Regions from separate parts of the Homo sapiens genome. Here all the other regions are linked to region 1. Evidence: promoter capture Hi-C in human tissues and cell types (Jung and others, 2019). All regions are on one chromosome and are shown on one strand. Each heading gives the region's core, a stretch centred on a gene start or on the middle of the fragment in contact. The rest is flanking DNA. Distances are from core to core; before and after follow the strand shown.

The links. Contacts are between HindIII fragments. The study calls those that stand out against the background at their distance.
Region 2: a fragment that was not itself captured here is called in contact with the fragment with the promoter of PAQR9 in region 1 in 2 of the 25 tissues and cell types used here (H1 embryonic stem cells and hippocampus).
Region 3: a contact is called between a fragment that was not itself captured here and the fragment with the promoter of PAQR9 in region 1, in 1 of the 25 tissues and cell types used here (mesendoderm cells).
Region 4: a fragment that was not itself captured here is called in contact with the fragment with the promoter of PAQR9 in region 1 in 3 of the 25 tissues and cell types used here (hippocampus, lymphoblastoid cells and spleen).

The regions. Positions count from the first base shown.
Region 1 is chr3:142,962,424-142,969,006 of GRCh38, reverse strand. PAQR9 (progestin and adipoQ receptor family member 9) reads left to right here and starts at 5,333. Exons shown (of 1, transcript NM_198504.4): 1 at 5,333-6,583. The coding sequence starts at 5,671. It overlaps PAQR9-AS1 (PAQR9 antisense RNA 1), which reads right to left and starts at 4,949. Exons shown (of 5, transcript NR_125393.1): 1 at 4,909-4,949; 2 at 4,371-4,542. RefSeq lists a silencer at 6,119-6,304. The HindIII fragment of the contact is 8,480 bases long and covers 716-6,583 here.
Region 2 is chr3:142,803,537-142,810,859 of GRCh38, reverse strand. TRPC1 (transient receptor potential cation channel subfamily C member 1) reads right to left here. Exons shown (of 13, transcript NM_001251845.2): 11 at 6,682-6,883; 12 at 6,230-6,424; 13 at 2,972-4,852. The coding sequence ends at 4,625. Among named protein-coding and RNA genes, the nearest start is that of PCOLCE2, 82 kb to the left of the region's middle. RefSeq lists an enhancer at 2,439-2,733. The HindIII fragment of the contact is 5,234 bases long and covers 3,324-7,323 here.
Region 3 is chr3:142,726,860-142,734,291 of GRCh38, reverse strand. All of the region lies in intron 1 of TRPC1 (transient receptor potential cation channel subfamily C member 1), which reads right to left. Among named protein-coding and RNA genes, the nearest start is that of TRPC1, 6.5 kb to the right of the region's middle. The HindIII fragment of the contact is 4,663 bases long and covers 1-3,901 here.
Region 4 is chr3:142,819,121-142,826,482 of GRCh38, reverse strand. It overlaps PCOLCE2 (procollagen C-endopeptidase enhancer 2), which reads left to right. Exons shown (of 9, transcript NM_013363.4): 7 at 2,868-2,951; 8 at 5,438-5,605. Among named protein-coding and RNA genes, the nearest start is that of PCOLCE2, 66 kb to the left of the region's middle. The HindIII fragment of the contact is 5,097 bases long and covers 2,018-7,114 here.

The sequences.
Region 1 (6,583 bases), core at 4,084-6,583:
TTCTAACCTTTTAAAAGCTTACGGTACTGAAAAAATTTCCCAGCCACAATGTGTTAAGTGCTTACTATGTGCAAAGATCTTTGTTTCAAGGAGAACTGTTGATAAATAATGGGGAGAAGAAACTCAGTAATCTAGCTCACACACTTGTATTAAGTGTTTCTCAAGTTAAATGGAAGCTATCCAAAAGGCTCTATCAAAAGCAAGCAACAGCCTATGATAAAACAAGTCTCCTCCCCAAAAGGTAACTCTGAATTACATTCAATATAGTAAGTTAATACAAGGCCTTTGTAGGAAAACAATATAGGCTCCAATCAGGAAACAGGAAGGGCAGACCTGGGAAAAACAGCTCCAGAGCAGAGACCACCATCCTAGGTCAAGGAAGCTGTAGAAGGGGCTGAAGGCCTGGGCACTTGGGCAGGTCTGGTCAGAGGTTGGGGACTGTTGGCTTACAGATGGTGACCCCAAACAGCCTTTCCAGCCATCTGAGTGGCAGGAAATGGCATCCATCTTGGATCTGGGAGAGGGGATGGAAGCAGGCTGGACAAACAAGAGCAATGGACTATCGAGAGTAGGTCAGCAGTTTGGGTCGCACATTCTTATCAGGTGAAGTGTTTTGGTTCACCCTCGTGTCCCAACATATTATTTATACATTATCTTCATAGACTACATATTAGTGCATCATAAAACCTTCACAGAGCATGTGCATGGAAAAGGATGACATCTATTTAAGCAGAAGTAATATTTTATTCTTCCCCTTCATTAGTCTTGTGAAACCACTCTAGAGACCCCAGGAAGAAAATAGGTGAATTTGCTGAGGGAGGGGAGTGTAGCATTGTCACTCCCTTCATAAAGCCTTAGAAAACCAAAAAAAAAAAACCCCCCACCCCCAAAACAAAAAGCATCCTCAAGTTTCCCTTAGCTTTTCTTCAAAACAGATGCCTGTCAGCTGGGCGCAGTGGCTCACACCTGTAATCCCAGCACTTTGGGAGGCCAAGGTGGGCGGATCACTTGAGGTCAGGAGTTCAAGACCATCCTGGCCAACATGGTAAAACCCCGTCTCTACTAAACATAAAAAAATTAGCCGGGCATGGTGGCATGCAGCTGTAATTACACTTACTAGGGAGGCTGAGGTAGGAGAATTGCTTGAACCCAGGGGGTGGAGGTTGCAGTGAGCCGAGATCATACCACTGCACTCCAGCCTGAGTGACAGGGCAAGACTCCACCTCTAAAAACAAAAAACAAAAAAACAGAGAGACATGTCTGTCACCCAGTCAGTAGCAGGCAGGAACAGTGCCAGATAACTCAGTCTCCCACTGCTCTCTCCCAGCCCTCTACCTGGCTTTCTGATTGCACTTGTCACTAGAGGTTGCTACAGTTACACCTGATACCATTAGATTTTCCACAATTAGGAAGCTTAGACTATATGACTTGGTAGTGACTATATTTGACCTGTCAGATCATGGCTGTTTTCCATTTAGGGAAAAGGGAAGCACTTTGTTTAAACTATATATATATATATATATATATATATATATATTTTTTTTTTTTTTTTTGAGACAGAGTCTTGCTCTGTTGCCCAGGCTGAAGTGCACTGGCACAATCACAGCTCACTGCAGCCCCTGCCTCCAACGTTCAAGTGATTCTCCTGCCTTAGCCTCCCAAATAGCTGGGACTACAGGTATGCACCACCATGCCTGGCTAATTTTTGTATTTTTAGTGGAGACAGGGTTTCGCCATGTTGGCCAGGCTGGTCCCGTACTGCTGACCTCAAGTGATCCACCTGCCTTGGCCTCCCAAAATGCTGGGATTACAGGCGTGAGCCATCGTGCCCAGCCTAAACTATATATTCTGAGAAGAGGGACTGAACCCTACAGAGTTCTCTCTTAATACAGAGTCTTGGGTACAATTAAGCACTAGGTCCATAGTGCTGTGCTTTTCTTTCTTCCTTTCCTTCCTTCCCTTCCTTCTTTCCTTCTTTTTTCTTTCCTTTCTCTCTCTCTCCTTCCTTCCTTCTCTCTCTCCTTCTTTCCTTTTCTTTCTCTCCTTTCTTTCCTTTCTTCTTTTCTTTTTATTTCTTTCTTTAGTTGGTTGTTTTCTGGCTAAAAATTAGACAAGAAAAAATTATTTCCTCTAAAAATAGGTATATTATTAGCCAATAACACAGCATATTTTTCTGCTGGTTTTACAGATAGCTAACTGCCCTTACTAAACAACATCAAATTTGCAGTGGCATTTTTACATATACTTAATATTATTCCTGTAGAAAGAAACAAAAACGTGTAGTTGGTCTACAAGAACATTACCAAAGCAAACCAGACTGAAAAGAGCATTCATCCCTTTTGCTACAGTTTCAACACATGACACATGACTGCATTTTGCAGCCAGGACCCCTCAACACCTGGATGTACAGAGCCTCCACTGAACTACCAACACCACATTTGTGGTCTTGATTTAACTTTAATTGATAGAACTAGCTGGCATTTGCCTCTAAATGCCAGCAGTGGCTTTCCAGTGTAACTTGGTGATTCTTGTCTGTCAAAAACTTTGCAGTCAGTCCTGGTTACCTTAGAGATGCCTTATGTCCCAATGCACCTTCAGGGAATGGCACCCTGCTCATTGCTTCTGTTTAGCCAAGTCCAGAGGATGTGAGCATGGTTCCCACTGACAAGAGACAGTTTGCTGGAGTTAAAACAAACTACAAAACTCAGCCTGTGCAGGATTTGGGGGCCACATTTTTATATCTCAATTTAAAAAGTAAGAGAAATTAATTCTATAGATTGGTAGCAATTAAGGAAAAGCCATATTGCTGTTTTACTTTATAAGTTAGGTCAGTTTTGCTGTTTCCTTAGTTCCTTTTTACTGAGCTTTGTCAAGGTATAGCAAGGACAGCTGACTGGGCTCTGCACCAGTGAACTTTCATGAACACCACTCACTCCATGGCATCAACTGGTTTTGTGCCTCAAGCAGGGTAGGGGATGTGTGAGAAAGGACAAAGGCAGATATCACAAAGACTTTTTCAAAGACTTAACATGAAACATTTTTTTTTTACTTTATAAAATACTGATTTTTTAAAAGAACATATTTTATTAGAGTCAATCTCACCATTCTTTGTCATAAAGATATTTTATCTAACTCAAGTTTTTGCATACCCATTTACAGTCAATTCCATTGTTTTGCTTGAAGTGAACTTTCTATTATATTTTTCTAGATTATGTAAGCGAGCTGATTATGCAACTAAGAGTGTGGTAAATATAAGAATTATTATAGGATCACCATTTTTACACGTGACAGCTCTGGTTGTTTGTGGAGTAACAAAGGGAATATGAAAAAAAAAAAAGTTCGGGCCTGCCCTGGATTCAAGTTTATCATTCCTACACTTGATTAAAACACCTAAATTTAATCCATTTTACAAATAGCCATGGGTCCTCAGTCCAGATATAAAAGGAAATTAGATTTCAATTTAAAACAAGCTACAAACAGTGGAAAACCAGAAAACACTAAAATAAGACACTGGCTAAATAACTACAACAAAATCTCACTTCTTAAAAATCCACGCCTAAAAAAAAAAATCCACTAGACAGGAATGTGTGGCAGTGCAGAAAGGCAGAAGACTGAAGCGCACGTTTGATCTAATTGTGTAAGAGCTTGCTAAATCAGTTACTACTTGAAAGTATACTTCAGAGAGAAGACTGAAACTTCTAGACTGTTTCTAGCATCCTTAAGTAACTGCAGACACTTATAATACTGAATGATATCCTAGTTATAAATAATTCTTATCCATAACTTAAATCCATCTTGAGGCTCTACTAAGTAAATCTTCCTTAACCTACTTAGAGGATGTGCAGTAGCGATGAAAGTAGCCTTTCTTTTCTTTTTCTTTTTTTTTTTTTTTTTGAGACGGAGTCTCGCTCTGTCGCCAGGCTGGAGTACAGTGGCGCGATCTCGGCTCACTGTAACCTCCTCCGCCTCCTGGGTTCCAGCGATTCTCCTGCCTCAGCCTCCCGAGTAGCTGGGACTACAGGCGTGCGCCACCACTCCCACATAATTTTTTGTATTTTTAGTAGAGACGGGGTTTCACCGTGTTGGCCAGGATGGTCTCAAATCTCTTGACCTCGTGATCTGTGTGCTGGGAGTACAGGCGTGAGCCACCGCGCCCGGCCTTAAGCCCCTTTCTTTAAGGCTCAAGGGCATATTTTCACACTGCAGTGCATCACAACCGTTTTCATTCTTCCAGTGTTCCTTTCTTCTGGTCTCCAGCCACCTGCCAGGTACTTCTGATTAATTACATATAAGATTTATCCAAGCCACCCCCTCCGTTTCTACCAACTGGACTTCATTCTCTTCAGTTCCTGCTAGAATGCACCTCCTACCTGAAGTCTTCCCTCATCAATGCCCTCCATGATCAGCCTTTGACTCTGGAATCCCTTAATATATTCCTCAGATCATTAGAGGTTTTCTGAGTCATCATCTGAGATTTTTCATTAAATTGTGGAGTTTGAGCAGCCAGTCCTGAGCTGTCGGACTCAGTTCCAAATAGAAGTCCTAGTTAAAGACACAAAAACAAGAAGATGGGTTAGCTGCGGCTCGAAGAGCTGGTGAGCGCGACCACAGGGCAGCTTGCGGACGGTTCTTTCGGACAGGACAAGGGCGAGGGAAACGGCAGAATGGTGACGCACCTGAGTGCGCCCACTAGACGAAAGAAGACCAACTAAGCCTTCGTGTAGTGCGTAGACAGGCCGACACACACACACACACACACACACACACACTAACACACACGCAAAGACAGTGAGGGAGCGAGAGGCGCATCCCCAGGTAGCTGACAATGACACGGCCCCGATCCGGACGCGGGCTTAAAGCCCCCCGACTTCCGGAGTGCCCCCCTCCCCGGCGACCTCCGGAGATTACCGCTGGCGCATCTCTCCGCCCTGCCCGGCTCCGGCGCCCTCCCCTCCCCCCGCAGCCGCAGCTCCCCGCCCCCCGCGAACGCGGCTCCCCAGTGTCCTCCAGAACGCCCGCGTGGCTGTCGGGTTTCGAACCCCAGGGCCGACTCTAGTACTCGGCGCGCGCGCCGCCGCGTCGCCGACCAGCCTGCGGCCCCCGCATCAATCATTAACGGGGCGGCCCGGGCTGCGGCGGCCCGAGGAGGGGGATGGTACGGAACTCGAGACAGGGGACAACTCTATCCCCCGAAGCGGCCGCGAAACCCTAGCCTGGGAGGCCCCCGCCCTTCCTCGGTGCGCCCGTCCCTCCCTCCGCGCCTCGGCTCGCACATCCCCACCTCCCGCTCCGGGGGCGGCGGCGGCGGAGGCACCCGCACCGCGCGATGCCCAGTCACCGCTGCCGCGCTGCCGCCGCAGTCAGCCGCGCCGCCGCCGCTGCCGCAGCGCGGGCGGCCGCGCGCCGGTAGCAGGGGCTTGGCGAGGAAGCCGCTGAGCCTCGCGCGCTCCGCGCTCCTGGCGGTCGCAGCGCTGCCTATTAATTGATTCTCTTATTGATTTATTTAATTTTTAGGAGCGGCTGCTCGGAGGCACGGGTCTTCTCCTAAACCTGCAGCGACGCCCCCGGCGTGGGCACAAAGGCTCCGACGGCGGCCGGCGGGGGCTGCCCAGCGCCCGGGAGCCGGCGCCAGAGGTCGCCTGCGCGCGCCCTAGCCGAGCCCCGGGCACCATGCCGCGGCGCCTGCAGCCCCGGGGCGCGGGCACAAAAGGCCCTCCGGCCCCGGCCCCGGCAGCTTCGGGGGCCGCCCGGAACTCCCACTCTGCCGCCTCCCGGGACCCCCCAGCGTCTGCCAAGCCGCTGCTGCGCTGGGACGAGGTGCCCGACGACTTCGTGGAGTGCTTCATCCTGTCGGGCTACCGGCGTCTGCCGTGCACGGCCCAGGAGTGCCTAGCCTCGGTGCTGAAGCCTACCAACGAGACGCTCAACTTCTGGACGCACTTCATCCCGCTGCTGCTGTTCCTGAGCAAGTTCTGCCGTCTGTTCTTCCTGAGCGGCGGCGACGTGCCCTTCCACCACCCGTGGCTGCTACCGTTGTGGTGCTACGCGTCGGGAGTGCTGCTGACCTTCGCCATGAGCTGCACGGCGCACGTGTTCAGCTGCCTGTCGCTGCGTCTGCGCGCCGCCTTCTTCTACCTGGACTACGCGTCCATCAGCTACTACGGCTTCGGCAGCACGGTGGCCTACTACTACTACCTGTTGCCAGGCCTCAGCTTGCTGGATGCCAGAGTCATGACTCCATACTTGCAGCAGCGCCTGGGCTGGCACGTGGACTGCACGCGCCTTATCGCCGCCTACCGCGCCCTGGTGCTGCCTGTGGCCTTCGTGCTGGCGGTGGCTTGCACTGTGGCCTGCTGCAAGAGCCGTACCGACTGGTGTACCTACCCGTTCGCGCTGCGCACCTTCGTCTTCGTCATGCCGCTCAGCATGGCCTGCCCCATTATGCTCGAGAGCTGGCTCTTCGACCTGCGTGGGGAGAACCCCACACTCTTCGTGCACTTCTACCGCCGCTACTTCTGGCTGGTGGTGGCCGCCTTCTTCAACGTGAGCAAGATCCCCGAGCGCATCCAGCCGGGTCTTTTCG
Region 2 (7,323 bases), core at 4,691-7,190, 160 kb after region 1:
GGGAAATTCTTCTAAGTATATCCTCCAGAAACACAGCTTGTTTATGAATGGGGCCGTGATGCCAGAAAACTAATACATTAACTTATAAATGAGGAATTCAGAGCAGTGATTATCCCTGATACTATTATTAGTTTCTTAGTGTAATCTGAATAACTAGACCCAGTTGGTTTACTCCCAGGATCTATACCCTCAATTTATTTGGTATTTTATACACGTATTTTCTGAGGAAAACAAAAATTTTGAAGTCTAAGGAATCAAAGAAAGTTTTCTTTATCAGGTAGAAAAGAGATAATAAGTATTTATTAATAAGATTAAGAGCACTTCCACTTTTATCATTTTTTAAGAAAGACTGTCAATGATTAGCAGTTGGTTTGTATCCTTCAAACAATTAATAACAACAACCTGTAGTTACTTTAAGGAAAGATGTTAAGCTTTGAAATCTGAACACATAACTAAATGATAAGCAAACTGGTCTTCATTGGGATTGCATGTGAGTAGAATCTCATTCTATTTTTTTAGTTATTAATATATAATGCTATTAGATTTCAATGCTAAAAACTATAAAACATTGCTAAGGGAAATTAAGGAAGACTTAAATAAATGAGAAGCTACATCATGTTGATAGTTTAGACAATACTGTAAAGACGTCAGTTCTTCCCAAAGTGGTCTCTAGTTTCAATGCAATTCCAATAAAAATCCCGTTTATTTTTTAAGAAATTGATAGATTCCAAAATTTAAATGAAAAATCATAGAACCTGGATAGCAAAAATAATTTTGAAAAAGTAATACGAAGTTATTCACCTTGGCATTTATTACTGTACCCCACTGTGCTGTGTGAGTGATGGGCTACCAACTTGCAGATGCAAGCACTGCTTTCTTTGGCAGTGGTAATGAATTTTAAGATTCCACTGTTATTTTCTTATTTATTTTAGTATGTTGTAGCATTGTATTTTAGATTTTTTGTCTGGGTTATTAAGGCATAATTTCTATACATTAAAATTCACTCTTTTTAAGCATACAGTTTGATGAGCTGTGCAGTCAGTTGTCTCCTAGACCACTAGACCCTGGTACTCAATGATCTGATTTCAGTTCCTATAGTTTTGTCTTTTCTAGAATGTCATCTAAATGGAACCATACAGTATTGTAGCTTTTTGTGACTGGCTTCTTTCACTTACTTTTAAAATCCATCCATGCTATTGCATATATCAGCAGTTTGTTCCTGTGGTGGCTTTATAATGTATCAACTTGGCTAGGCCTAATTATGTTTCCCAAAATTCCCTTTCTTGTATGCTTCCAGTTACAAGAGACATTTTAGTGCAAGACTGGAGAGCAGAAGTGAAGCAGCAGCCGTTTTGTTCTTGATGCGGGCACTTCTGCAGCTCACACGTGCTGTAACTTATCTGCTGGTTCACTTTGCTAATGTGGGGCAGCAGCCAGGCCTACAGTTGACCCACCTTTCCTTGGATCCTGCTTCAGCTTCTCTTGATTCCTGGGCCAAGTGAGTGTTTAGTAACATACTTGCAAAAGCAAGTGGCAAAGGGCAACACTTCTCCAACAGGGTACCACATCATAAGGTTGGAGATGTGAGGAGTCACATGGGACTCGGTCTGTCTTCATGGGTTCTAGCTTGTCCCTGATCTCTCCCACTTGACATCCATCTTTTCTTCCCACCTGCCTACCCTGTGGACTTCCAGCTCTGCTCCAGCATTAGATAAAAAAACAGGGACTTACAGAGACTGCTTACCAACTCCAACAGTTGTGTAATGTCAGATCCCTGTAAACAAATCACTATACACACACATACATGTGTGCCTGCAAATATCCTAGTAGCTCTGTTTCTCTGATTGTGACTGATACAATTCCTTTTTACTGCTGAATAAATTGTCATTGTATGGATTTACAATTTGCTGATCCAGTCACTAGTTAATGGACATTTGGTTGTTCTCAGTTTGACACCATGAATATAGCTTCTATAAATGTTCACATACAGGTCTTTGACAGATTATTTCAAAACATGGTAGAGTAGTCCCCCCTTATCCACAGGGGATATGTTCCAACACCCCAGTGGATGCCTGAAACCACAGATACTACTGAGCCCAATTGCCGTCAACTGGAACACGTTTCTGTTCATACTGTCCACCCACAAATTTAACGCCTTTTACATCTTAACTAAGCACTTCCCACACTGTGGCTGTAACTTTTGCAGTTTCAGGTGTAACAGCAAAATTAGCACAGATTTTTTTTTTTCTTTTTCACAATTTCCCAGACAAAAGATTCGTTCTTACTGTAGATGTTACCACAGATACATTTTTTCTCTTTCCTGAAGTTCCTTAAGTCAAGAGCTTTCACCTTTGCACTTAAAGGAAGCAGGCTACAGCTTCTCTTTGGCGTATTTGAATTGCCTGCATCACAACTCTTGCACTTTGGGGCCATTATAAAGTAAAATTAGGGTTACACATAAAGCAAGGGTTACACAAGCAGTGGGATGCCATGACCGTCGATCTGATAACAGAGAATGATGCTAAGTGATTCAGTGGTGGATAGTGTATACTGTGAATATGCTGAACAAAGGGATGATTCACGCCCAGGCAGGATGGCATGAGATTTCATCATGTGACTCAGAACAACAGTGAACAACTTAGAACTTAAGAACTGTCTGAGCATGGAGGCTAACACTTGTAATCCCAGCAATTTGGGAGGCTGAGGCAGGAGGATTGCTTGAGACCAGGAGTTCGAGGCTGCAGTGAGCTATGATCATGCCACTGCAGAGTGAGCCTGGGCAAAGAGACACTCTGTCTCTAAAAAATAAAAAAAACTTCAAGAATTATTTCTGGAATTTTTCATTCAATATTTTTAGATTATGATTGACTGTGGGTAACTGAAACCATGGAAAGTGAAACTGCAGATAGATAAAGGGGGACTACTGTATATCTCAACTTTTTAAAATTGGTAATACAATGAACAGACTCCATTTATAATCTAATGTCAAATTTTATTCACCTTTTTTTTTCTTACAATATGCTGTCATTCAAAATGTACCTCAGAAGCAACTCAACTCATGCATACAGTAGGCACTCTATAAATGTTTTAATAATTAGGTGTTTTTTAGAATGACTAAAAATCCAGATGTAAAATCCCAATTGGGAAGTGCATAATCCCATCGTAGACAAAATATATAACTTTACAATAAACATTTTTATAAGAATTTGCCCCAAAGAGGGAACACTTAAAATTTGGAAATTAAAAAATAAAAATGCAAAAGCAAGATGAAACAAACAATAGTAACCTATTTAGACAATGATCCCTGGATCGGTGGTGCTTACAGACCAAGGGTTACCTGCACCCTGTGGCGTAAGACCATCTGACATTCGGTTAAGAAGAGAATTATATACCTAATATCCTCTTAACTGGAAATGCTGCGAGAATATATAATAGCCTATGAAAACATTTTAGCTACATCCCTTTATGTGAACACACCAAAAATTTAAATACATATTTTATTCTCTAATTTTAAAAAACCAATGCTTTTCATCTTAAGCAGCAAGAATGATCCACAAGTAAGCATGAAGTCACTTTTATAGAAGCTGTGTTAAATTATGGAAAGTACCTTGGGAGATAAGCTCAAGAACCTTAGTCCAAATATAAAACAAATCATTGCATTAAAGAGACTTCCTATGTTTTACAAAAACAAAACAGGTTGTGACTACATGTGATAAAAAAGTGTCTCCTATCTATCTTAAAACTAAAAACATTCACTCCAACTTGAAAAAAAAATAGGACTATTATGATACAAAAAAATTAAAACAAACCAAATGTCGAGAAGTAGCTATGCAAACTTATAAACATAACTGAATAGCTAAAAAATAAAACATCTACTGACTGTATTTTTCAAAAACTATATAATTCTATAAAAATTTAAATGTGGACTAACTACATCAATACATGGAAATGTATATATAAAATATTAAGTGAAAAAAACATTAAAAATATAAAGTGATTATAACCATGTAAAAGTAAATATATTACAATAACAAAAACTGAAGTGAATTTAAATTGAAAGACATAAATAGATTCAAATATTAGGGTTTTTTCTTTGTTGCTTAAGATTATAACAAAATACAAAAGAAAAAATAGACTATTATTTTAGATAAAATAAAATTATACTCCTAAACAATAAATGCTGAACTATATGTGAACTCCTAAAACAGAGATATTTAAAACATAACTTCTATATTTCAAGTGTATCCTGTGAAGGAGATCAGCCTACATTTGCTGGTCTTCATTTTACAAAACATTCTGGGCAATGTGTCCATTTATAACTGCCCCTCTTAAACATAAAAAAAAACATTTTAAAGCACTAAGTAAGAAAACCAAGCAGCATGCTAACAAAATCTATCTACTTAATCTGTTTTGCTTCTGCAAAAAGCCACTAACAGAAGGTTTAAAAAACTAATTCTATATACACACTTTACATAACATATATTTATGCTATAAATATTTTAAAGAATGGCTTTTACATAATTCTTTATTTCAATATATATCTCATTAATTTCATTGCAAGTTATGCAATATAGTCTTTTGGATCTGTTATTGAAAATTATTCGCTCCATGATTTAGAAAATGGTTAATTTCTTGGATAAAACATAGCATATTTAGAAGTCCGAAAGCCAAGTAAATCCCTTATTTCATTTCGGAATTTTGACAGATCTTGGCGCAGTTCGTTTAGATTTTCCACAGTTGCCTGATCTGTACTTTGCATCTTCTGTCTCATGGAAGTCAAGTAACGATGCACTAGGCAGCACATCACTTTTTGATAGTTTTCATCTCTCTTCTGTTTCAAATTCCTCCATTCCTTCAAAACAACAATATGATACTAAGGATATGCAGAAACGATATTTAAATGAGGTAGAGTTCAAAAATATATTCACAGACACAAACACATCTTTAAATGCTTTATTAGACTATAGTTTTTCTACTACATGGTATAATATTCAACACTTGTTTAAAACAAATATAGCCTGCATATTTGTTTAATGAATTTAATTTTATGCTTATCTTGATTGAAAAAAATTAGTCTTAGGAATCCTTAGTTTATAGCAGGGATTGGCAAACTACAACCCACAAGCCAAATATGGTCCATATCCTGACTTTACAGCCTGTGAGCTAAGAATAGATTTTACAGATGAACATTTATCATCAATTGATAATAACACTAATTTTAAACTCTAGTTAAGTGAAATTTTATCCCCTCCCAAAAGGAACTCCATTCTTTTCACTAGTAGACCTATATTTAAAAAGTTATTACTGTTATTGTTATATTTTGACTTTTATCAATAAAAGTTTTGTGAAAATTTGTTTTCTCTCTTACTGTATCACTGCTTACAATATCTCTGATTTTGTCTCAGCCTGAAAAGTGTAAAGTATTTACTATCTGGACCTTTACAGAAAAAATGTCCCAACCCCTGGTTTATAGTAACATATATTGAATTATTGATGTATTGAATAACTTTCAAGAAGAACCAGAAAAATATGAGCTGATTCTAGTAGTCATTCTTTAGCTACAGTGACAGAATGGGTATTTTGAATATTTCCCATGTTTTAAAACTATGAGATGAAATTTTATATATTGGAGGAATCTGAAAAGTAAAAAAAAAAATCTCAGTACTATCTCCCATTCTTAATAATTATATGTGTGTGTGTGTGTGTGTGTGTGTGTGTGTGTGTGTGTGTATATATATATTTGTTTGTTTGTTTGTTCTGAGGTGGAGTCTCGCTCTGTCACCCAAGCTGGAGTGCAGTAGCATGATCCTGGCTCACTGCAACCTCCACCTCCTGGGTTCAAGCAATTCTCCTGCCTCAGCCTCCTGAGTAGCTGGGACTACAGGCATGTGCCACCACACTCAGCTAGTTTTTGTGTTTTTAGTAGAGATGGGGTTTCACCAGGCTGGTCTCAAACTCCTGACCTCAAGTGATGATGTGCTTGCCTCAGCCTCCCAAAGTGCTGGGATTACAAGCGTGAGCCACCGCACCCAGCCCTCTCACTCTCAATAGTATTTATTGAATCCTTACTTTATGTTGGATGCGATGCCGTACATTAGGGTATATAGCAGTGAAAAAAAGTCAGACAGTCACAGCCCTTAGGGAACCTGCATACTTACGCTTTAAGAAATATCTGAGATTAGGAATTGTTAAAACTTTTATGTTGCCATTCAAGCTTCTAATTTCTTACCTTTAAACTGTTTTGCCGTTTGACCTTGCCTTTTGATGTATGAGAGCAAATCCACTTACTGAGGCTACTAATCATATAGCAGATAGTCTTTGGTGAGGGAATGATGTTGAAAGGTGGAGGTAACGTACATTTGTCATCAAAGTAGCTAAGCCATAATTTTGCTCGAGCAAACTTCCATTCTTTGTCTTCATGATTCTATATAAAAGGCAAATTAAAAAGCAAACTAGAATATTAATACACACACAAATATGGGGGATGTTTCCACACCTTGCAGAAAAATTTTGTTCAACATTTGCAATTATTATACATTACTTACATTTTAAAAATCTATATTTAATTTAAAAATACTATTTTTCAATTCTTATAATCTTATAATCTTTGGCTATCTTATCTATTGTATGCACTTAGTATGGTCTGAGGAGAATATAAAGTTTTTAAAAGAATGAACTTACTGCTATCAACTGAAAGCTTTTATGAAGCATTGCCACCAGCAGTTTGGTAAGCACAATCACAACCACGACATTGTATGTACCAACAATGACAGCTCCCACAAAGGACTGCAGTTCTTCTCCATAGCTAAATCTTGTGACAAAGATTGCCACATGCGCTAAGGAGAAAATATACCAGAACAAAGCAAAGCAGGTGCCAATGAACCTGTAAAGACAATTGCATTTCTGTTTAAAAGGCAATTAAAGAAATTAGCAAAAATGAATCATTTGTTTATATCAAAATTATTTAAATAAAACATTGATAATCCATGAAAAGTTCCTTATTTAAAAATGATGTTGACTTCCACAGTACTGATATGCCTTACTTTAAATTTAAACAAAGAGACCCTAAGGAAGATAAATTATTTGTAACTGTTTAACCCCTTGCTGCCTTTCTTTCTGTTCTCAACAAGGCAGCCTATATGATTTGTTAACATCTAATTAGATTTTGTCACACCTCTGCTCAAAACCTTCAAATGACTCTCAATCTCAACAACTCAAAATCCTTACAAGGGCAAAAAAGTCCTACATGATCCCCATTACCCTTCTGACTTCATTTCTGTCTGTTCTCAACAAGGCAGCCTATATGATTTGCTAATATCTAAT
Region 3 (7,432 bases), core at 321-2,820, 230 kb after region 1:
TATGTTTTCATTTCCTTATTTTAACTTTCTCATCATTTTAAACATAATTATTTTGTAGTCGCTGTATGACAGTTTAATTATCTGAAAGTAGTATTAATTTGAACCCCAAGACAACAAGAGGCAGGACCATGGTTATGTATTCTTAAAGGAGTCTTATTTTTAGCCTTATTCAGAGCCCACAATAACACAAACAAGCTTCTTTGAAGTCTCCATGTGCTGGTAGATTGGTTTTTCTCCTCATCTACCTCTTTGCTGAAGGTACAGTCCTTTAAGAATCCTGGTTTTATGCTTAGATGTTGAATCCAACTCCTCACTTTGTACAGTCTCCAGGCCTTGTAACCTGTTCTCATATGGGCATTAAGACTCAAATCCCTGCAATGCCCAGAACAGTAACTCTTATCCCCACCCATGGAGCAGCCATAGTGTCAGCTCACAAACTCCTGTTTTTCAGTTTTTTCTTCACTTTTGTATCTTGGTTGTTTCCCCTACTTTCTTGAAAGCTCAGCTGTTCATTTAACTGGATGTTCATTATATTTTAGCTATAATTTCTAGGTGATTTGAAGAAGAAAGGTTTTCAGATTATCTAATCAACCATATTGCTAGAGACAGAAACGTAGGAAGAGCTACACAAATAAATCCTTATGACATTTTATAAATTTCAGGTATAGCAAATAGACAAAAATAACTGCTACATGTTTAAAAGTTTAGATTGCTGTTAAAAAGGAAAGTACATTACAAATATCATATATTCCAGCTTTAAAGTTTTTGTTTTGTTTTTAAGACAGAGACTCACTCTGTCACCCAGGCTGGAGGAGTACAATGGCACCATTTGGCTCACTGCAACCTCTGCCTCCTGGGTTCAAGCGATTCTCCTGCCTCAGCCTCCTGAGTAGCTGGGATTACAGGCAGCTGCCACCACGCCCGGCTAATTTTTGTATTTTTAGTAGAGATGTGGTTTCACCATGTTGGCTAGCCTGGTCTCGAACTCCTGACCTCAAGTGATCTGCCCGCCTTGGCCTCCCAAAGTGCTGAGATTACAGTCATAAGCCACCGTGCCCAGCCCTAAGGTTTTAAAGATTATTTCTATTGTAGTCAAGGAGCTATACAAGAAAGAAAGAAAATCCCTAAAAATCAAAACCAAATAAATAATTTTCATCCCTAAAAATAAAAGGTTCCACCCTGCTACAGCTAACACAGTCATGCAAATGAAAAATCACATTATAGTCACAGAACCTACAGGAAACCTAGAGTGGTTGCTAAGCATTTCAGAGAAGTTTATATTTGCAATTCATTTAAAACAATGCACTATGTCAAAAAAAAAAAAAGACCAGAACACTCTTAATTTTTAGGATGAGTATATATGTAAAAAGAGGTCAGAAAACTTAAAATAGACAGCAAGTAGCTAGTTATAGAACAAGGATTACAATTCAAAATGCCTGTGTATGACAGACAAATATATAAATGCCATTCATTTTATAACGAAGTTGCTTTCAAGAGTTACATCTTTTGTCTTTTAAAATATAACACATAGAAGGAAGTGCAACATAATCTGTTTACTTTTTTGGCTAGATGGTAGTCTTTTTCAGTCAAGGAAAAAGAAACCATTTTCAATCAATTCCACAGGGAGTATACCAATTCAACAGCACGTCTTCTTAGCCCCCTCTCTAAAATATCTCCCATAATCATCTACTTGTCTCCATGTATACTGCTACCCACAGTCCAAACCCCCATGATCTTCCTCCTGGACTCTGCAATAGCCTCTTAACTAACACAGCTGCTGACCAAGATTCTCTCCTTAACCAAACTCTAGTCAGGCTTTTCTGAGCCCTTCTCCACAAGGCCTCCACCTTGGCCCATATAAACTTGAACAAAACACTTAAGTGTTTCTAACAGCTGAAGGCCGGATCCCTAGGATGACCCTAGCCCCTCTTAAAATGCCTGCCCGAGAAAACTCAAAGCTGACATAAAAATTTACTTTTGTTCCAGCCAACACCTGAAGACAGGGCCCCTATCTCTCAGCCTCCAGGGAGGGTAGGAGCCTAACTCCTTAAGTGCCTTTAGCAAACTCAGGTGGGATTCACATGGACCAACTCCCCAAGCCCCGTATTTTGTAATTTTTCACTTCCCTGACTCCACTGAGCCCACACTCACCCCCTTCCTTGTTTACTCTTTTCCCTATTGCAACTTATATTACTTACTAATACTTTATACTGTAGCACAGGGGTCAACAAAGTTTTCTGAAAAAGGGTTAGAGAGTAAATATTTTAAGCTTTGTGGGCCATGCACTCTCAGTCACAGCTACTCAACTCTGCCCTTTCAACACAAAAGCAGCCACAGACCATATGTAAACAAATGATAGTGGATGTGTTCTAAGAAAATTTTGTTTATGGACACTGAAATTTGAATTTTATAGACTTTTCATGTGTTACGAAATTTTTTTTAACCATTTGAAATATAAAATGTAAAAAACCAGTTTTAGCTCCAAGACCTCACAGAACAGGCAGATATGGTCTGTGGCCCATAGTTTGCTCACTCCTGCTCTAGCCCCACCCCTTCAATCCACTCTGCACTCCACAGCTAGAGTTATCGGTTAAAAATTCAAAACACAAGCCGGGCGCGGTGGCTCATGCCTGTAATCCCAGCACTTTGGGAGGCTGAGGCAGGCGGATCATGAGGTCAGGAGATGGAGACCATCTTGGCTAACACAGTGAAACCCCGCCTCTACTAAAAATACAAAAAATTAGCCGGGCATGGTGGGGGGCACCTGTAGTCCCAGCTACTTGGGAGGCTGAGGCAGGAGAATGGCGTGAACGTGGGAGGCGGAGCTTGCAGTGAACCGAGATCACGCCACTGCACTCTAGCCTGGGCGACAGAGCGAGACTCGGTCTCAAAAAAAAAAAAAAAAAAAAAAAAAAAATCAAAACATATCAAGCTTACAAACTTTGTGATTTTTCTATCACACTTAAAATAAAGGCCAAATTTCTACTGTGGCCTACAAAGCCCTATAGGACTTAGTTAGACCTTGTTAACATTCTGAATTCATCTTGTGCCTCTCTGCGGCTCAGCCAATGATCATTCCAAACCAATGTTTTCCAAACTGCAGGTTGCAACCCATTAACAGTCATAAAATCAATTTAGTGAGTCCTAACCAGCAATTTAAAAAAAATGAACTAGTATACAAAATACCAGAGTGATCCCATAGATCCTTAGCAACAAATTTACTCTGGCCAACTGTAATAAACCCTTGAGAAATACAATGGAGAAATGTTACAATACTGATTAAGAACAGGTGATTCCACCTCTTCCTCATTAGCATCTCGTTTGATTTTATGGCAAAGAGAGTATCAATGTTGTTCAGTTTAATTTTATATTAACCAAATTTGAAGTTAGTTGTGAAGTGTGAGAGAATTTAATGTCAAAAAATTTGTAAAGCTTTTCAAACCAAGTTTCTGTAACAAACCTGAGTGTGGCAATTGCAACATTCTAACTGAAATATTACCAATGATGCTTAAAACAGAAAGTTTTATTAAGAGGAAAAAGAATGATGATGTGAAAAAATAAAAAGACATGATCAAGTTCAGTTGCTGGATCTGGAAATATAAATGACAATACTGATAAAAATGTTAACTGACATCAAACTTCAAATTAGCTTGAACCAAATTTTAAAAAGGAAAAAAAAAAAAAACCCATGCAGACTTTTTACAGTGAAAATGATTTAAAATGTAGCTTTATCAAATGTGCAAAACTCGTATTACAGACCCCAATGTATTTATAACCATATTATTGTAAATGAAACCTTCAAAATTAAAGATACTAAAAAACATGGTAGGCTAAACTGTTTATAACACTTTGAACATTTTTGTAAAAAGACAATTATTACCATAATTTCTTAGTTGCTTATGAATCTTAATGAGGACCATTAATAATAATGAATATCATTTGGCAAAAGAGCAAAGATTCACACTGCTGCCTGAAAAAATTACACTATAGCACAGAAGGTAATGCTGATTTTTTCATAGTAAATCAGTTGATAAAAATTATAAACAGCATATTCTTAACTCTATTAGAAAAATAGTCAAAAGCAATGTTTATTTTGTAGTTAGAGTCTGATAAATGACATGAGATCCCATTCACAATGCTGCTGTAAGTTGTTTAAAACTTAGTTTATATCAGGTTGTTGCAACACAGTCTCAGAAAGGATTTATTGTGTTGCTTAAATTTAATCTCATATACATTTGAATTATACATATTTATAAAACTAGAAAAATATATTACTGGCCAATATGTTAATCTAGAAAAACATATGTTTAAAAATTAACAGAAGCTATTAATAACAGTGCCAGTCACCCCCACTTTATACATAACAAAGCTTTGGCATCCAAAGAAATCTACTGAGTCTCATGACTATATTGATACAGTGCTGGAATTCTTTTAGTCCTTATCATTCATCTAGGCTCCTAAAAGTCATTAGTTAATCACATCTTAGTGATAACTTTTGAAATCCTCATTACCTATTCAACTATTGATCTTAAATCTTAAATTTCTCAGTATCATTAAATTTGGAAGAGTTAGCAATGAAGAAGATATTTAGAGCACTGGCAGCAAGGTAGAAGAGGAATTATTAGGTTACGATAATACCTATATAATAAAATTTAATCTTTTCACACTCTTCCTCCAAGTCTATATACAAGGTATAGCTAGGAGTCTGGCTTGGGTTACATTTTTTTTAACTGCCCAGATAAAAGACTGACCCTGTACACGTAATATCCCATTCTCCAAATCACATATAGGCCATTTAAGTTAAATTGAGCACTTGCTTCTTCCCTTCAGACAGATATATTTAATACAAACATACTTTTGTTTCCTTACTTCTCCTCGCTAGAGCACAAGAGAGCATCTCCATTAAAGAATATTCTCCTAAAGGATAGGGATGTACTCAGTACTTTCTTGATAAAGCACTTTCACAGTGCCTTAACACAATTAACAGCTTGATAAGTATAGTTTGATTGTGACTTACAGAAAAAGAGCAGCAAAGTTGCGTGATCACTATAAAGAATTACCAGTATCATAGAACTACCAGGCAGCTAGCTGCTGAATTACTAGTCTGTTAGAGATAAATTATCCACTAAGATTTTCGCAATTTGAGTCTTTCGTTGCTGTTGTTAAAGTATCCCTGAACCGTTCGCCATGGCAATGTTTTTCAACTATTACATTGTAAAACTTTGGTTATTTGAAAAGCTTTCCTATATAAAGTACATAAATGCTATGTCTATGATGATTTGTGAAGTGTTTATAGAATGCTGCCTACAATACCCTCTTTACCTCTCATTTCTGCAAAGTTTTTTCCTCACAGCACATACCTCCTTACATTAGGTGCCCCATTGTCAACATAACACTTCACACCAATACTCAGTACTCTGCATTTTTTGTTTCTTCCCACCACCATCCTCTCTAATACCAGACTTCAAAATCTCTTCTCAAATAAGTAAAAAAATTTTAAAGGCCCATTATATATAAATAAGGTGTTTAAAAAACAGCAGCTTAATATTACTTCTCTCAGAAATGCTGCACTTTTTTCTTCTGACTCTGGCTTCTCTCTGGAGTTGTTGCACATTTTTAAAGCATCCTTAGCCCAAAGGTACACAAAGCTTATGGAGAAAGTCAGTCATCAGGCCAGGCACGGTGGCCCACGCCTATAATCCCAGCACTTTGGGAAGCCGAGGCGGGTGGATCACTCGAGGTCGGGAGTTTGAGACCAGCCTGGCCAACATGGTGAAACCCTGTCTCTACTAAAAATACAAAAAAATTAGCCGGGCGTGGTGGTGGGCACCTGTAATCCCAGCCACTCAGGAGGCTGAGGCTGAGGCCGGAGAATCGCTGGAACCCGGGAGGCGGAGGTTGCACTGCACTCCAGCCTGTGCAACAAGAGAAACTCCATCTCAAAAAAAAAAAAAAAGAAATACAGTCATCAAAACATTTTTCCTTACAACACAGCAAATCTTACCACAAAGGTGACACAGGACACTGAGACTAGGCTGAGCCCACTGATAAAGGTGAAAACCTGCTCTCTCCATCCCTCCCCCTAACCCCATGCTGAAATTTCAAGAAGGGGCTTCTAACTCATTTACCGCACATCAGATTTCCTGAAAATACTCTCCATGGAGAGTTGGCAGGGACTGAATCATTTCATACTTTCTTTCCTCCACATGAACTGATTAATGATCATCAGCAAATCAAACAGTTTATGCAGGTTTATATTTACAAATATATACTAAAAGCTACCATCTACTCAACAAGTTTTTTTTTTTTAGAGGAAAATTAACATGAACTACACTTAGTTTAGGTGTTTTCTAAATAAACTTATTTACCCTTTCTCCTGTTAACAGACCTGAGGGACACCATAGGTGCCTACAAATAAAAGAGGCTCATTATGACACTAATTCTCAATGAGAGAGGACAAAGCCATGGCTGTAAGAATCACTACTTAATTTTTCATAAAACAACATATTTATAGTCAGCTCTTGTTTCAATTAAGTTTTACCTCTGAATTTATATAGCTTTCTATCTCTAGAAAGAACATGAGTATACTTTCTGAGAATTTTATCTGGGGGTCCTAGACTTCACTTTATATATTGCTGGCACAGTAACTTTCAATTAAGGTTTTCCTTTACAAAGAAAGGATTCAATGTTACCTCTGAGATGATCCTCACCCACTATGAAGATCACTAACAGCCATTACTAAGTGGCCACTACCTAGATCAGCAGTTGCCTAAATCTACCGAACTTACTTACATAAAAGCCAGCTATCACAAACTATAAATCTTTTTCTTTTCTCTTTCCTACATTTATTGTACTCTTTAATCTGTACACATCTTTCAAAGGGCCACCCATCCACTAACATACACATATCCATCTCATCTCCACAATTTTTGCTTTAGGAATTCCTCAATTTTTCCTAAGAAGAATATGTTATGAACATTTTGCATATGTACAACAAGAATGCTACATGAAAAGAATGAGACACTCTAGAACACCATAGATACTCTAGAGTTGATTTACTCTGGTGCTACTGAAGTACCATGCTTGCTTTTTACCCTTCATTGAACAAATGTAATACACAGAAATCAAGGTTTATAAAGCATCCATACAAAGAAAATGTAATTTCAACTAGTAAGTCCAAATATGGATGTGTCTTTTCTGACACAAATGATGTTCACTCATTCACCTACAACCAGATCTATATAACGTAGTGGTTAGGAGTGCAGGCTCAAGATAAATGCCAGTTCTACTATTATCTAACCAATGTAACCTTGGGCAAAGTAATTTTAAAATTTTGCTAAGCCTCATTTTCCTCATCTACAAATTGAGGACAACAACAGATCTGGCTCATGGGGTTGTGGGGTTTAAATGAAATCCTCTATGAAAAGCATGA
Region 4 (7,362 bases), core at 3,317-5,816, 140 kb after region 1:
AGAGGGGCTGGCTCCAGAGGACTCACAGAAGGCATGACTTCAGGTCGGAGGGGGGTGACCCCTCTCTCAGAGGAGGAAAAGAAGAGAGATGGTATAAAGATGACTTGGAGGTTTGGTGGGGATCTTGAGAACATTTTCTGCTATGCTTCTCTTCTTCCTAGAAAATAGGCAGGGTCGGCTAGGTGCGGTGGCTTACACCTGTAATCCCAGAACTTTGGGAGGCCGAGGCGGGTGGATCATGAGGTCAGGAGATCGAGACCATCTTGGCTAACACGGTGAAACCCCGCCTCTACTAAAAAAATACAAAAAAATTAGCCGGGCGTGGTGGTGGGCACCTGTAGTCCCAGCTACTCGGGAGGCTGAGGCAGGAGAATGGCGTGGACCCAGGATGCGGAGTTTGCAGTGAGCCGACATCGCGCCACTGCACTCCAGCCTGGGCGACAGAGTGAGACTCTGTCTCAAAAAGAAAAAAAAAAAGGCAAGGTCACCTCTGAGAGGGAGAAGGGAGTGGCAGCACGGGAGGTTAGGAGAATGAGAAAGAATTTGAAAAACAGCTGTAGAAATTGGAGAGTAGGCTGAACTCCAGCCTGTCACTCTGCTGAAGGCCCATTTGTGTACTCAGTTGTCTGAGGGCAGGCACAGGAAAAACAGATTTCTCTGAAGATTCATACAGGGCTGAAGGGCAGAGGGGAAGGGACCTTAAGGCATTGTGTAGAAAATGATTGAAATAATGGACCATGGAAATGAAATAGAATTGCTAAGGAAGTAAAGACAGGCCAGGGCTGACGGGTTGGGAAAAATGAGAGCAGCCAATATATTGAACCATCAAAGATGGAAGAAAACATAGTCATAGAGTGATTAAATAAATAAGCTTGGAGGGGAGAACGCTGTCCTGGTTGCCAGCAGGTCTAAATTTGATAGACTGGCAATGAACAGCCATAGCATGAAGACATCCGAGCCTGGAACTGAGTGTCTAGGAAAGTCCCTGGTGAAGATGAGGCCACGGGGACTGCGGGATCAGACATGGGAGGGTGGACCCATAGAAACGATCGCGGGAACACAGCCAGGGAGGGCTGAGAACCGGGACCAGCTTTGTGAGTGAAGGGCAAGGAGACAGATGACAGTTAAGATGAGGAGGGGAAGGAGAGAGCCAGTGACTTGCAGGCCAGACAGCAGGCCCCACCAAAGCAGGAGAAGGGCATGTTGGACACCCACCCCACTTCCAGACTGACCTTCGGAGGCTGAGAAGCAGCCGGTTCCCAATGGGCCCGGGAAAGGGCGCTCACCATCAGACACACCACAACTTTTTGACTCAGTTAACTGAGTAAATTTAATTCCATAAATTTACAGCTGAAGTGAGGTTCCCAACTTCTGGAACAATGGTATGTCTCTCCCTTCCAAACATCTTCTGAGCTCTTTCTCTCCCTTTTTTAAAAATGCATATTTAAGCTATTATATGTATTTTAACATTAAATTACATATGTTTTAATATTGCCATCTGCTTCAGATTCTTTCTGGAGTTAACTAGGGGGTACAGATTAAGAGTATATAAATAGGCTGGGCGCGGTGGCTTACACCTGTAATCCCAGCACTTTCAGAGGCCGAGACAGGCAAATCACCTGAGGTCAGGAGTTTGAGACCAGCCTGGCCAACATGGCGAAATGAAATCTCTACTAAAAATACAAAAATTGGCCAGGCATCTGTAGTCCCAGCTACTCAGGAGGCTGAGGCAGGAGAATTGCTTGAACCCGGGAGGTGGAGCTTGCAGTGAGCCAAGATCACACCATTGTACTCCAGCCTGGGCGACAGAGCGAGAGACTCCATGTCAAAAATAAATAAATAGATAAATAATAAATTAACAGAGGAGTTGGTGGGGCCTGTTGGAAGAGCAATATTACAACTGTGGATATTCACCCAACAAGGGCAATTCTGTTACCGTGGTTCTGTTTAGTTCTTCCTAGCATATTGTCACACAGAAACAAATAATTAGCAAGTATTTCTGAAACATTCTTAAGATGATTATGAGGATGAACTATTTTCACGTTGTTAACCCGGGGTTTCTCTACCTCAGCACTATTTATATTTTGGGCCAGATCCTTCTGTGTTGCGGGGACTGTCCTTTTTTCTGTGGGATGTCAGCAGCGTCTCGGCATCTACCCACTAGATGCTAGCAATACCCTCTAGTTGTGATAACCAGAAATGTTTCTAGATATTGCCAAATGCCTGCTGGGGGCAACGTCACCCGTACTTAAGAACTGCTGTGTTTTGTCTATTTGGTATACTTTTAAATTTGTCTACTTCTTAGTTCTTAAGATTCTTATAGCCAGTGCCAGGCTCAAAATAAATATTTAGTGATGGGTTGCATCTAATTACAGATGTAACACACTTTACACATGAACAGTATTTCTAAAAACCTATGCTACTCATGTTTAGGCAATTGCATATTTTAAGGATGTCCTCAGGGGAACACCCTATGATTCCTTTTGTAAAGTGAGGGATTAACCTACATTCTGTGAGTTCCAATTTGTTGTTCTGGGTTTTTCTAAACAGGGCACACACTCAGAGTACGCCTGTATTTTCTTATAGTGTTTGTTTTATATAAAGGAAGAAGAGAACAGGGCTACATTTGTGCTATCTTTGAACTCAGGTTTAAAATTCAATAGAGGGTATTGAGTTGTCCTGGTGAAATTAGAGCAGTAGTTGGTAGCATGGAGAATTTATTTTGCGTGGTTTTAAATTTTTTCTTTGTAGTGATAGATTGGTGGCTCAGGGAAATAAATGATAATTTTAAATGGGTAGATTCAGAACTAAAGACCAATTATGCTTGAATTCATTTTTCGTGAAACTTATGTCTTCTTTGAATTAAGGTTTAAAACCCACCGTGGCCTTGTGTCAACAAAAGTGTAGACGGACGGGGACTCTGGAGGGCAATTATTGTTCAAGTGACTTTGGTAAGAAATAAAAGCCAGTCTTTTTCTCTTTAACCAGAAACTTGAGGCTGCATGCTTAATCTCAAAGGAATTCCTATGAATTTATGGTGAAGGGTCAATAACGCTGCTCATTTATCCAAGAAAATACTTGCCTATACACCAGAATGGTCAAATTGTTAGATTTCACCACTGAGAAAAATATGGATTTAGAAAATATACTTTTTTCATATAAGCTTAATAATTTGACTCTTGGTACATGATACTGCCACATTGTGTGTTCTGGCTGACTATTCCTGCAAAAAACCTATGTACTTTTTTCCTTATATATTTTTCATATACAGAGTATTTTTTCACACATCTATAACTCAACTTAAGTAAATTAGAAACATACCCGAGCTTATATTCAGAAGCTGGTCTCTCTCAGAAGAAATTCAAGTATTTCCCCTGTACTGCCTTTCTGAGGTACTGAAGTAAAAGTTGGAAATCTGGAGTCCATTTGGAAACTCTCACAAACTGGAACCTGAGGAGGTGTTCTTTAATGATTTAGAATTTTTAAGAGCTTTTTCCAGTGGAAAGATTGCACCATCTATGATAGCTACTTAAGAGCAAAAGATACAACATTTTATCTTGGTTATTTTTTCAGTGGCTTTAAAGGAACATTTAAGACAAATCTGATCAGGAAGAGCAAGTTGCTATGGCCTAAATACATTTCCCCAAACAAAACTTCCCCAGAGAGGCTCTGCTTGCTTTTTCTGTGCCTTGAAGTGACTTCTGTAGTCCAGACGAGCTGTATCATAGTGAAGGTGTGAAGACACTGAAGACTCTGGGACCCTAAACCTTACTAGAGTTCACATGCTGAAATTCAAATAACTGGCATAAATGTGAAAACAACGCCACATGTAATTGCTACCACATCCAGTTTACTCTTCTGTAGGAGGTGCTTCAGGAAGTCTCCCTCCCTGTGTCTTGGGAGCCACTGATTTCACTTGACTATAGACTGAATTTTGGAGTGAACACTTATCACGCAGGATCAAAGTAAAGCATCATAGGAATTCTGATTTTATGAACATTGCACACTGCCTAAGCAGTGAGTGTTCACTTTATTCTGAAGGAGTCAGATTAACCAAGTCCAAAACTTGATTTATTCCATTAATGTGACCGCTTACATGGCAAAATGACCAAAACTATCATCAGTCACTGGTTCTCAACCAGGGCTGATAATGCTCCCCTGGGGAGTGGTAGAGATGTTAGATTACTGCATTTTTTTGGTTGTCACAATAACTAGGAACTGCTACTGATTTTTCTAGGAAGGACAAGGCTGGTAAAAAATGTATTCAGGCCAGGTTCAGTGGCTCACACCTGTAATCCCAGTACTTTGGAGGCCGAGGCAGGTGGATCACCTGAGGTTGGGAGTTCGAGACCAGCCTGACAAACATGGAGAAACCCCATCTCTACTAAAAATACAAAATTAGCTGGGTGTGGTGGTGCATGCCTGTAATCCCAGCTACTTGGGAGGCTGAGGCAGGAGAATTGCTTGAACCTGGGAGGTGGAGGTTGCAGTGAGCTGAGATTGTGCCACTGCAGTCCAGCCTGGGCAACAAGAGCGAAACTCCATCTCATGAAAAAACAACAACAACAAAAAAAAACTGTATTCAGTGCAAGTCCTACACCACAAGGAACTGTCCTTGCTCAAGCCCCCAGAATGCCAGGCGCACCCCCGTGAGAAAGACAACATCTTTCCTTCTGTGGCTTCAAAGAGAGACTCTTTTCTCGGAGTGTCATGATGGAAAAAACAGGGGTTTACATAATGAAAAAATCAACTGAATTTTACTAGAGGTTTTTTTTTAAGAAAAAAAAAAGTTTAAGTTAATACCTCAGTTCTATACTTCAGCTTGTTAAATGAAATAAACGGAGTGGATAAGAAAGAGAATATGAAAGACCGTAGAAGACAGAGCTTTCCTGATAATTAGACAGAGGTGAGGACCCAGGGAATGAACAAAAGTTCAGGAAGAAAGGACAGCTACAGAGAAGGGTGAGGAGAGACACAGAAAGGTGGCTACACACCCACACCGACACAAAGACTCACATCTTAGTGGCCCAAACCCCCATCGCGCAATCTTTTAGCGTGGTACTGCCTCTAAAGATACAAGATCTTTTTGAGTATTCACAGGTAGAGCCTCATAAGCCAGACTATCCCCTATGTGACAATCAAGCCACAAGTTGGATAAAACGTTTTAAAGAGTTTCAACCTTGGCAATGGACCGCAGTGTGGCAAGTATTTAGGCTTCTCTTCTAGTTATCAATCCCCAACAACCAGCGTAACATCACAGCTCCAACCTGAATTTTGGTGACAAATGTACAGAAGCAAATGTGAAACCTCTATGAGGGCCTTTTCTTTAACATTAAAATGTTTCGTATCTGAAACTTAGAAGAATGTAAACTTGTTTTTCAGTTCTGCTTGCATTTGCCTTCACTGTCACATCACTTCAAAATGTTTTCTTCTGCAGTATTAGCCGGCACTGTTATCACAACCATCACTCGCGATGGGAGTTTGCACGCCACAGTCTCGATCATCAACATCTACAAAGAGGGAAATTTGGCGATTCAGCAGGCGGGCAAGAACATGAGTGCCAGGCTGACTGTCGTCTGCAAGCAGTGCCCTCTCCTCAGAAGAGGTGAGTAGGGAGAAAACTGGGTGTCTCTGAGCAAGCCATGGATTTTCCATGCCATGGTTGGTCTAGGGAAGTAAAATCAGGGCTAATATGTTGCCCACTTCTTGCAGAGCAGGAAGGCCTTTGGAGTCAGGCAGAATTGGGCTCTCATCCAAGTCCTTGTAACTTGTGGCAGAAGAAGGGGTAGTGGACATGATGAACAAGTGAAAGAAGCGTTTGAAGTTGAGTCAATAGGCAACAGACACACAGAGCAGTGCAGGGTGGAGAGATTTTAGACTATTGCACTTAAGATGCCAGTACTGTCTAGGTTTAAAGAAAAATATCCAGCAGCCAACAGGAAATGCAGACCCGAAGTTCAGAAGAGGGAGGTATATCCGGGCTAGAATCAAGATCTGGGAATCATTTGCAGAGATAGGACTATTAAGTCCATGGATGGGAGTGAGTTTATTGAAAGAAATTACGAAAAACGGAAAGTTACTCCAGAGCTAGAGGCACATGACTTTTTAAGAATATGTATTTAACAACTTATAAAAGTAACATATGTTTCATGGTTTTTAAAAAGTTGAAATAAGTAGGTAAGAGTATGTTTAAAAGTGAAACCCTTTTCCTTTCCTTAGAAGTACTCTAAAAAGTTCCTTCCAGCCAGACACAGTAGCTCATGCCTGTAATCCCAGCACTTTGGGAGGCCGAGGTGGGAGGATTGCTTGAGCCCAGAAGTTCGAGATCAGGCTGGGTGATGTAGTGAGACCCTATTTCTATAAAAAAAAAAAAAATTTAAGTTCCTTCCAGAAAGTTTCTATCCACATAAAGCATGGGCATATACACTTATGGAATCATATCACACACAAGTTCTGCAATTTTTCCCCTACATAAGCTCTAACATCTTTCCACACATACACACAGAGAGAGAGAGAGAGAAAGAGAGAGAAAGATACAGAATATCCACTTCAAGAAAGCTTTACTGTCCCAGCACTTTAGGAGGCTGAGATGGGAGGATTGCTTCAGCCTGAGTTCGAGACCAGCCTGGGCAACATAGTGAGACCTCTGCTCTACTAAAAATAAAAAAATTTAGCCGGGTGTGGTGGTGCGCACCTGTGGTCCCAGCTACTCGTGAGGCTGAAGCAAGAGGATGCCTTGAACCTAAGAGGTCGAGTCTGCAGTGAGTCATGATCACACTGCTGCACTCCAGCCTGGGTGGCAGAGCAAGACTGTCTAAAAAAAGAAAAAAATTTAAAAATAAAGCAAGCTTTACTGTGAATTCAGATTGTTCAGAAAAGTCAGGAGGCTAGTAGCCTCATGTTGAGTCTCTGGAGAGAATCACAAAGGCTCTGTAAAAGAGAAACATTTCTTTCCAGAACTGCCAGGAGCAGCAGATACTGCACCTCAAGATTCTATAAGGTCTCATAATGCTGCTAGCACTTCAGCCTTGAGGCAGCATTACCTGCCCAGACTCTCAGGCTCTCACAGACCACTGTGATGACAAGGTCCACCCACACAGGAAAATGCAAGAGAAAAAGGACACATTTTCTCTATGACACACCAGGGGAAAGGGGAACTAAAGGAGGAATTAACCCATACCTTTTTTTCTGATTTATTTCTGAGGTAATATAAATATTCAGAGTTACCCAACACCTCAGGCCCCAGTCTAGGCCTAACTTAGCCAGTCACACCAATGTATAAAAACATAGTATAACCAATATAAGTACTCTTGACACCGATGTTTTGCAAGAAACTGTACAAATGCAAGTAGTATATGATCC